Linked DNA regions of Homo sapiens: region 2 is linked to region 1. The links are contacts of gene promoters, found by promoter capture Hi-C in blood cells and fetal thymus (Javierre and others, 2016). All regions are on one chromosome and are shown on one strand. The core of a region is centred on a gene start or on the middle of the fragment in contact, and the rest is flanking DNA. Distances in the headings are between cores, read along the strand shown. Region 1 holds the start of CDH10 (cadherin 10). Region 2 has its middle 370 kb from the start of LINC02109.

Region 1 (5,211 bases), core at 2,222-4,721:
GTAATTATGACAAAACAATATATTTTTGTGAACTCATTGGTCTGTGTAAGTGTCAAGAAAAGATAAATAGATTTGTCTGTGCTAACTTTCAGTTTTTCAAATATGCATCTATAGTGTCATTCCGAGAACGCTTCTTTTTACTACTTAAAATATCATAATATGAACCATATATTGTACTTAGTATAACGCTTAATCAATTTTACCATTGCTCAGTATACGTTTAAGAAGGATGAGGAAATGTTTCTTGCTACTTGGTTTTTAACTTCAATCTATTCCAGACATGACTGTTAAATACAATATGGTTAGTAAGTTGTCTCTTTTGAAACCCTATTCCAGATAATATGTTGGGTTAATTGAAAGTAGAGTTTTCAAACATAGACCTGAAATTTAGAGATCAAATATCTGCATAAAATTACTTATAATTGGCATAAATAATTTTACTGTTTTTCTATTTATAATTTCAGTATTTTACAAGTACTTCTAATGTGACAGCAGTATTAGAATGTAATTTGCATAGTAGAAATCAGAATATAATATGGCTAATGCTTTTAATACCCAAGGGCTACACTAGAGATAGTTGGGTTTGCATCACTGGTTTGTATTAATTGCTTACTATGAAACACTATTACTGATAATAACACTTAACAAGAATATGGTTCACTTTGCTGCTGATTCAGCATCATCAGAGCCAATACTGCTGCTGTGCTGCAGCCTAGTGGAATGATTTGGTATAAAAATGACATATTCCAGTAAGACGTGTTATCACTTACTGCAAAGTAGGTTAAGAGACATAGGAAATCAGTCATAAGCACAGAAATCCCCCAGATAGTATATACTTTGCCTCAGTTATTTGCTTATATAAAAAATTAAGTAAAGGTCAAGAAATTCACCCTATTTTTTATGCAAGATTCATATATTTTGGAATTAACCTTTCCAGTTTCAAGTAGTCTATTTTTCAACAAGAAAAAAAACATACCTCTTCCAGATTACACTAACTTTGTAAATAACGTGTCAGAAATATCACTCTAAATTAAAATCAGTTTTGTATCCTCTCTTTTTCTTTTTTAAAGAAAATCCCAGTGTGGGTAAAAATCTAACAATGAAATATTAAATTGATTACCTGCATAGCACTGTTCTAATTAATAAACAGTTTCTATAAACATCAAGGAACATCACCTAGAGCATTAATCAGGTACCAAACAATTTAACCATTGACTTCACACATATGCATATGTAGGTGGATGCTCATACAGTTTACCTTCTTTTTTCCCATTTCCCAGAGATTTTGGTTTTGTTTGTTGTTTTTTTTCCCCCAAACCTTTAAGTGTATGAAATTCTATTCTTTGATTGAAGTCAGGGAAGGCGTATGCATTCACCAGAGAAGTCAATTTGTTCACAGCAAGTATTTGAAACCCAAGAAGTATCTGATTTAATGAAAGCAGACATTGACTCACACTTTAATAACACAGCCAAAAAAAAAAAAAGTGAAAGAAGTATTTCTTTATATTTTTATCATCAGAATGGGTTTGCATCTGACGTGTCCCTAAGGCACAGATCCACGCTGTTTACACCTGTGCACTCTCCAGTCTCTTCACCACATCCCTCCCCAAATAAACCATTACTTCCTTATGCATTGCACATTGAATACATATGTGCCACATTTAGTACACTCGGGGGAGCGGGGTGCAGATTATCTATGCGACTTAGCATTTACCTGTGTTTCTAGGACATAACCTCTTTCTTTCTTCTTCATCACTTTTAACTAAAAATGAACATACGGCTCTGTCAATGACATAATGTTTTCATGAAAGTTCTACTAATTAAAAATCCTCACCATACCAGACCTAAAAAATGAGCACACTCTTGCCAAGTGTTATTCACCACAGAGAAGCTCTTGTAGCTACGTTTTAAAGGAAGATAGAGAGGGGGATGGTATGGAGGGAGAAAGTCTACTAACATATGCATTGAAGTATAACAGTTGTCAACATCAGAAGGACAGATTATTTTTAATACAGATCCTTCAAGAAAAAAAAAAAGAGGAGAAAAAATAATGTATCTCCAAAGAGCTGAGAAGTAATGGATGTGCAGTTTTGGATAATAGAAGCTTTCACTGGAATGAAGGAATGAAGGACCACAATTATAGGAAACATCTGTTTTTTCAAAGCAAAAGATGATAGGTCATTTTTAAAACAATATTTGTCTTTGTACCTGTAGACTCCCCTTTTTTCATAATAAGGAGACAGTAGGTTTTTATTTTAGTGGCATAAAAACAATTTCAGACTACTGCTTTTGCCCATAGTTACAGTGCTATCAATAGTTACTTGTTGGGGACATGCATTTATACTTGCAATATGCTGCATTAATTTAACAACACATAAAATATGGATTTTATTGCAGCAGAAACAATAAATGCTGCAACTGCTGACTACATGCATTTACTCTCCCTCTCTTTACCTCTCTCCCCCCAATACTTCTGACTCAGATATAAAATTGAAAATAAGAATTCTGCCTATTCTATTTCTGATGAATGTCAATCTATTGTATTTATGTAGATGCTTAGTGACCATTGACAGTTTCAAGGAATCTGTCTTCTGCCTGTCATTTCTGTTTATATTGAACGTACAATGAACTATGACTACGAATAAGTGCAGAGTGAATCCATTCATATGGAATGCAAAGTAATGTTAGATGATGTTAGAGTTCACAGTAACAATGTTATCTCTTGAACTGATTTTTAAAATAAAAATGAACAAGTCTGGGCATGACAAATTCACTTCATAACATATTTTTTAGCATTTGTTCCAAGTGAATGAATTCACAAACTCTAATATCATGACCCACTGTTGAGCATAATATATAATTTATCCAGCTTTACATTGCCTATATAGATATTCGAAGCAGTTGTTTCTAGAATTAAATATATAGAGTTGTATGCTTATTTAAGTATTAAAGATAATTATTTTGAAATAATTGCTAAACACAACTTAAAAACAAACATTTATCTCCTCCCTCTCCCCCCCCACCCCTCAAGTGGAGGAATATATAATACCTTAACGGAGTTAAAAGAAAGAGGTGAAGTCTTCCTACCTTTTTTATCAGCTTCTGGATAATGGAAGTTGGTTCCAGCCAAAATAACCCAGGAGAAATTGTCACTATGTCCCCTTTTTGTTTGTTTTCGGCTGTTATTTTCTATCACTGATTCTACTTCAATCTAACTCAAGCTCTTTCTCAGCATCACTTTTAACTCTGGACAGCAGGGAACCGAAGAAAACGGGGGCGAGCTCTCTCTGATTGGCTTTCATTCAGTGCTTCTGATTAAGGGGAAAGGAAAAAAAAAAAAAAGGAAAGGGGGGAAAAAAGCTCTTCCTCACACGGAGAGAAAGGTTCTGCTGATAGAGCTGCAGCACTCGCCATGGGAAGGTTAGAGACTGTGGAAGTGCTGGCTTCTGCGAGCACACAGCGATTTGCAAGTGAATGCGAGGGGAGGGCGCATCCGAGAGGAGGGCTTTGCTTGAAAGGCGTCCCCTCCCCCGCAGGGCAGAAAGACTCTCTGTTTCAAGGCTAAGGTAATCAGCCCAATCTAATCCGCCTGTGTCCGTAATACAATCTCAGGAACAGGACTGCTTCTTGCAATTTTTTTTAAAAAAAGATAGTTCTTCTGGAATATATATTCCTGCACCGTCCTTACACCAGACTACCGAAATCCAAGTATTATCAGAGCGCCAAGTCAAATTGCAACCAGATTTGATATGTTACCAGAGTGATTTTTCGTTGTGATTTTAAATGTTTATTTTTTGCTTTCAGGGAACTTTCTCGGCTTGATTTTCCAAATCCCTTCTCTTGTTGCTTATTGTCACAGGAGTGCATACCTCGCTCATCATTTTGGAATGTCCGCGAGCCAGTCTTCTCTGCCTAATCTTTGCATTTTAATACTTTATAGATAAAATATTTTATTAAAAATGTAAATATGTAATTAGTGTTATTAAAATATTTAGACTTTGAACTTGACACAGTCTCCTTTTTTTTCTTTTTAACGTTGTTTTTTCTCATAAATACGGGTTTCATACCCAAATGAGTGTGTGGACAGATGTAAATACATTTGGATTGTTCTATCTACTTAAACATCTAACTGTCTCGCTATTTATCAATCTCCACATCAAATTGCAATCAACCAAACCTTACCAAAGGATGTCAGTATAGCTCCACAAAGTAATTAACATCTTTGCATTTTTCCGGCTACAGGTAGATTCCTTTTAAAGTGCCATCCATAAATAAATTATATACACATATACATACATATATGCATATAAATACATATATGTCAATTATAGTTTTAAAGCTAGAGGAGAAATTACGAAGATCATTTTGGGCTGTTATTATTATTATTTCTTTAGCAGATAAAAATGCTCAGAATGTTAAATTGTCACAGGACTAACTGGAGGCGGGGTCAAAGCTGTAATACCACACTCCTACTTCCAGTTTAGTATTGTTTCCGGTTGCCATACTGCCTCCTCTGTACCTGTTTGATCATTCTAACAGTCAACAGGCCCCTTACATAATCAGCACAATGAAAAAGGAAGAAACTCAATCTGAGGGGCAAAAAAGAAGTGAGAGGGAGATTCAAAATTAGATTCCAAAAAGGTTTTAATGTATCACAGTGTTATTATATGATGAATTTTACCAATTAGTTTTATATTTGAAAACACCAAACATTTCCACTGAGCTGAACAGCTAAATGACATTTAGAGCAGAAATGGACTTTTGAAACTCTTAATTTTACAGACGATGGCATTAAGATCAGGAAAATTTTATGGCCCCTCTAAAGTTTGATAATAATAGAGCTAGAATTCTGAATTATCACCGTATCATTTGCCCATAGTTTTTGTTATGTTTTGTATGTTTTCTTCGACAGGGTGCCTTAATTTCAGAGTCAAGTGAAAATAGATATTCAGTTTTTTACCTCTGATACGTATATTTGTGTGTATTTGTGTTTGCCTGGTATATGTGTGTATTCAATATAATACTGTTATTGACATGTTAAATTAGCTATCAAGAGAAATTTATAATATTTAATTAAATGCAGCAGGTTAGGTACACACACACACATTGTTCTCTTATTAAATTAACTATTTCCATATGTTTGTTTAGTGCTAATTTCAAAATGTATGACTACATAATGTGAAGAATTTGGGGGTTACATTTAAATGGGTC
Region 2 (5,484 bases), core at 449-2,948, 4.1 Mb after region 1:
TTCTGTCTCTTGATTTTGATGCACTCATTTTATTTTCTGATTACTCCCAAACTTACACATTTTCCAAACAACCCAGGACACTTCTCACACCCTTGGCTCTACATACACTGGTCTCCATTTCCTGAATAGCTTTCTCCCTTTTCCCATATGTATAAATACTGATTTTACCTTCCTTGAGGCCCAGATAAAGCATTATCCCCTCTATAAAAATATCTCTTTCCTCCCCAAACTAAATATAGTTTTTGCACTAAAATTAATTTCTGCCTCTATATTCAAAAAGCATGTCTTATTAAAATTATCAATGTTTTTATTATTTTATTTTTTCCTAGTAGAGAGATAGCGCTTATCAATTGTGTATTATTTTAAAAAAAATCTGTACGTCGACATAATTAATATGACTTGCCTTCACTGATCCTTACGTACATAACTAATATTTTGAAATTTGTGCATCATTCAGGAAAACATACTGTTTAATGTTATTATTTACTTTTGAAAACAATATGCAGTCTCTAGTAAAAAATTTTATTTACTGTTTCTTAACTTTAATGTGAAATAAGATCAAGACTAAAAAACAAAATATTAACATACCTATATACCTACCCATTTAATAACTTAAATATAATTCAATATATTATAACTAATTTTTAAGAGATTAAAAAACATTTTATTTTATCAGACACTCAAGTATTAAATTTTCATATTCATTCTACTGTTTCTAGTAAGCTCTAGCATTTTAGGGGTTGGGCTGCCATCTGGTGGAAATTTTAAGTCTTAACTAAAAAATCTATATTTTGGTGTGGCTTGCTCATTTATGTGTTATAAGCACGTTAATAAACATTCTAGTTGCACAGGAGAAAATGTACTAAATTAAATTAATGAGCTGAAATGTAATAGAAAATAAAAGCAAATACATATTTAAATTAGACAAGTATGCGTTTCTGCTTGCCTTAACCATCCATTTGTACCACAATAAATTTAATACTGTGAATATAAAGAAGGCCATAAAAACTCAACAAATAGACAAACAGACAATTGGTTACTGTGTGAACACAATCAGGATTTTTTAACCCTAAGTTATAAACCAAGATTTGCTTTTACTGTCATACAATTACAAAACCTCTACATAAGCTTCAAAAGAAACCATAAGTAGTCATGAAAAAATACACTGGGAAGAAATTACATTCTATTTCTTTTCTGATTACCCAATTGCACATTCATTTCTCAGTTATTTCTTCTTGAAATACCTTGTTTGGTGCAGCAATACCTTGCTGTTTACCATACTTAATGAAATACAAACTAGAGTAGATAAACTCAGAAACAAATGTAAAATAGAGTACTCAGATATGAAATAGAATATTGTCAAATATTGTTTTAGAAAGACTCACATACAAACATTTCAAAACTGATTATACCGAAAATTTTTAAATGAAATTATTGAAGATAACTGTTGGTTGGTAGAGTTGATATGTTAATATTCTAGAGTGCAGATCACATCCTTAGTCTTATTATTGACACAAACTCACAGGAGGTGCATTTTTATCTAATGAGGTTGTTATTCTTGTTGGATATTTTTTATTTCCAAAAAATTAAAATTTAATCTCACCATAATGGGATGTTTGCCTAGACATGCTAGGCTTGACAGAGATGATTTATGATTCTGAAAATAAAACTAAATTGCACAGAGCCCTTGAGGAACCTAAAAGCAGAATGTGTTAGAGAAGTGAGGGATACATTGTGAAGCAGGAAGGCTCAAGAGCAGTTCCAGTTCCATTCTTAATTAACAGTATGGTTTAAATAAAAATAATAATCATAATCATAAGCCACATTGTAAAGCAGTTTTCATATCACATATTATTGAATCCTCACAACAATGAGATGATAAGCGTTCCTTTACTATTAGTTTTGTAGAAATCACAAAACAGGCTCAGAGATACAAAATAACTTTGCCAAGTGCAAACAACTAGTATATGCCACAGATGGAACATTCAGGCAGACTACTGGGATTCGGCTTGCTCATTGAAAAATAATATTCTGTGAATCCTATTTAGGATTTTAGTTTTCTATGCAGGTGAATCATAATAGGTTTACTTTATTACAGAACCAATTAGTATTTTAAAATTAATCTGTATTTGTTTTGTTAGGATTTAACATACATAAAGAATATACATAAAAATTTATGTGCCTGGAAAAAATAAGGTACAACAAAGAGCCATGGCTATAACTATAACCAGTATTCAAGAAGCCTCCAGCAATGCATCTATAAATATGAAAGCTTTCTGCAACTGACTTGGGTGTAAACTTTACACTACAATTTATAATAATTGTCTCCTGTTTTTTTTAAGACAGAGTTTCGCTCTGTTGCCCAGGCTGGAGGGCAATGGTGTGATTTCGGCTCACTGCACCCTCTGCCTCCCAGGTTCAAGCAATTCTCCTCCCTCAGCCTCCTGAGTAGCTGGAATTACAGGCACCTGACACTATGCCCGGCTAATTTTTTGTATTTTTTGCAGAGACAGGGTTTCACTATGCTGGTCATGAACTCCTGACCTCGTGATTGGCCCGCCTTGGCCTCCAAATATTGCTTTTTTTAAAAAAGGTATACACCTTTGTATTCATCCTAAAAGTTAATTTTGTTTTGTCTGTTATGCTTATTAATGGTAATATATGTTTTTTATTTGATATCTTGTTTCAGTCAAGGTTTGTGAAAATTATCTTAGATAATTTTATATATTAGAGATACCGTTTATTTTTATTGCTCTATGGTAATTCATTGTATCAATATGAAATAATTATTTATTTTGTAATTGATAGACATAGGATTTTCTTCTAGTTCAAATCTATTACGATAAAATCCAGTGGGATTTCTGTGTGATAAGTTATGTACATCTTCCAAATTTGTATATATATCCTAATTACCAAAATGATTGTATCAACTTATTCTCTTATCCACACTGCACAGTGAAATTTTTTGTTTCTTTTGCCACTCTGATGGTTGTTTTGTTTTGCTTTGATGCTTACAAGATTGAACACACCTTTTCATAGAATTATAGAATACATAATTCATTTTTGTGCTCATTTAAAAATATTACGCTATGTATTTCTCTTACTCATTTATAGCAATTCTAAACATATTTGGAATGCAGATTGTTTCCAGGCAAAGTAAAGAGTAAAGTATGTTCTGGGGAAAATAAAAACAAATATAGGCCGGGCACAGTGGCTCACGCCTGTAATTCCAGCATTTTGGGAGGCCGAGGCAGGTGGATCTCCTGAGGTCAGGAGTTCGAGACCAGTCTGGTTAACATGGTGAAACCCTGTCTTTACTAAAAATATAAAAAATTAGCCTGGGGTGGTGGTGCACGCCTGTAATCCCAGCTACTCGGGAGGCTAAGGCAGGAGAATCGCTTCAACCCGGGAGGTGGAGGTTGCAGTGAGCTGAGATTGAGCCATTGCACTGCAGCCTGGGCAACATGAGTGAAATTCCATCTCAAAAATAAATAAATGAATGAATGAATGGATGAATAAATAAATAAATAAAAATGCAAGAAGCTAAGGGGCAAGGGAATGGGTAGCAGAAAGATGGCAATTCACTGTAAGATGATTACTATGGCAATAACAAAATATTTAGTAAAACCCTCACCATAAAATATACATGTGTGTATGTGTGTGTGCATGCAAGTATAATGCCAGGTTCATAAGGAACAACAGGTAGCAATGTAGGAAGAGTCTGGGAACAGATTACGTTCTATTTCATTTCTGATTGCCCAATTCCATATTCATATCTGAGTTATATCTTCTTGAAATATCTTGTTTGATATAGTAATACCTTGATGTTTACTGTACTTAACGAAATATCACTACAGTAGACGAACTCAGAGACAAATGTACAAATGAATAATCAGAAATGAAATAGAATATTGTCAAAAAGCTCAGAGACCTAAAAAATTTTCGACCACAATATAATATGAAATATTATTAAGATGTACTTTGATAACAAGGGAGGATCAGAGTCAACTTTTCTATAAGGATCAAATCAAGGGTATTACCCATCTTTCTATTGTTAATACTTTTGAATGGCTTATGGGAGAGCTCAATAGATTCTTTCAATTGGAATAAAAATGATTCAGGAAATGATACTAAAGGTGCACCTTGACCTCGAAGTCTGATAGTCTCATGGTTTCTGCAACTTAATTTGAGAAAGAAAAAGAAGTTTTGGAGCACAAAATAGCAGAGGAATATTGCAAGACATTTGTTTTTTAAAAAGCTGAAATGAATTTTTATTGGCACATAAACCTAAGTAGAATGGAATAAAAAGCCTACCATGTATATAGAGAGGGAAGCTACCATTATAACCAGAACTCTGGATATAAAATATCTCTTTATCTCGATATCTATAACATTGTTTGAGTTAATGGTCTACAAATAGGAAGTAAACGACAAACATCTCAGCTCTTAAGGAGGGCACATTGTTCACTTCAGATATGACAAAGAAAGTAGTGGAAAAAGAAGACCCTTCCCTTCCTTCCTCTCCTCTTCTCCCCTCTAGTCCCTTCCCCTCCCCTCCCCTCCCCTCCCCTCCTCTCCCCTCCTCTTCTCTTATATAGAAATAAGGACTGTAGGGAACAGTAGATTTAGGAATTTCTCCCAGAGAGAAGATCTGGACCTCTAACAAAGAATATGTCCGAAACACCGCCATAAAATAGGTCACCTTTAATTCCGACCAGAATTACAGAATTGCTATTAACCATAAAATCTTTTGTTCTCTCATTATTCCTCTTTTTGAAAGACAGTATTTCAGTTTCATTGTCCTGATTCCTCCAATTCCATTTGGTATATGTGGGGACAATTTCTTTCCCCATTCACTTCCAGGTCTTTGGATCTAGGGCTGGATAAAACATTTAGAGTATATTTTGCCTGGATGAGGAATCCTAACCAGAATATCTAGTGAACAGACAGACCAACTGTGATAAGGATCCAAGTTGTTCAAACAATTTTTCCAGCTTTATTCTTTGCAGAAAGAAACATGGTAGACATTTTCGAAGTTTTCTTTATTAAAAAAGTTTTTTGACGTTTTCTGTGGCCATATGACTTGCTTTGGCCATTGTGGTATAATCATTGTGGTATAATCAGGAGTGATATGGCTCACTTTGGAACCGAATCTTTAAAAGCCAATTAATAATTTACTGCTTGCACTTCCCACAGCTCTGGTGATCACAGATGCTCATGTCAACAAGCCTCCATTATCTCACATCCCTGAGTCACTCCAAGGGCAGATTGATCTAATGATCTACGTAGGACATGTACACGAAATGCAAACTTTCCATTTGTCAAGCAAGCAAAATTTTGAAGTTACTTTATACTGCGGAATTACTGACCCCACTGTGACTGTCAGAATAACAACATGTGTCTTCATTCGTTTCTGTAATAACTGTGCTACCCTACCTGATATCTTCTGAATAAAAGGATATCTAAACACTTGGACTCTGTTAC

What was found. The method cuts DNA at HindIII sites, captures the fragments that hold promoters and counts their contacts. A CHiCAGO score of 5 or more calls a contact.
Region 2: a contact is called between a fragment that was not itself captured here and the fragment with the promoter of CDH10 in region 1, in 1 of 17 cell types (endothelial precursors). The highest score is 7.5, in endothelial precursors.

What each region holds. Positions count from the first base shown.
Region 1 is chr5:24,641,507-24,646,717 of GRCh38, forward strand. CDH10 (cadherin 10) reads right to left here and starts at 3,472. Exons shown (of 12, transcript NM_006727.5): 1 at 3,088-3,472. It overlaps LOC124901174 (a long non-coding RNA gene), which reads left to right and starts at 3,203. Exons shown (of 2, transcript XR_007059125.1): 1 at 3,203-3,566; 2 at 3,805-4,008. RefSeq lists an enhancer at 3,169-3,764. The HindIII fragment of the contact is 4,637 bases long and covers 2,103-5,211 here.
Region 2 is chr5:28,765,996-28,771,479 of GRCh38, forward strand. No RefSeq gene overlaps it. Among named protein-coding and RNA genes, the nearest start is that of LINC02109, 370 kb to the right of the region's middle. The HindIII fragment of the contact is 1,144 bases long and covers 1,127-2,270 here.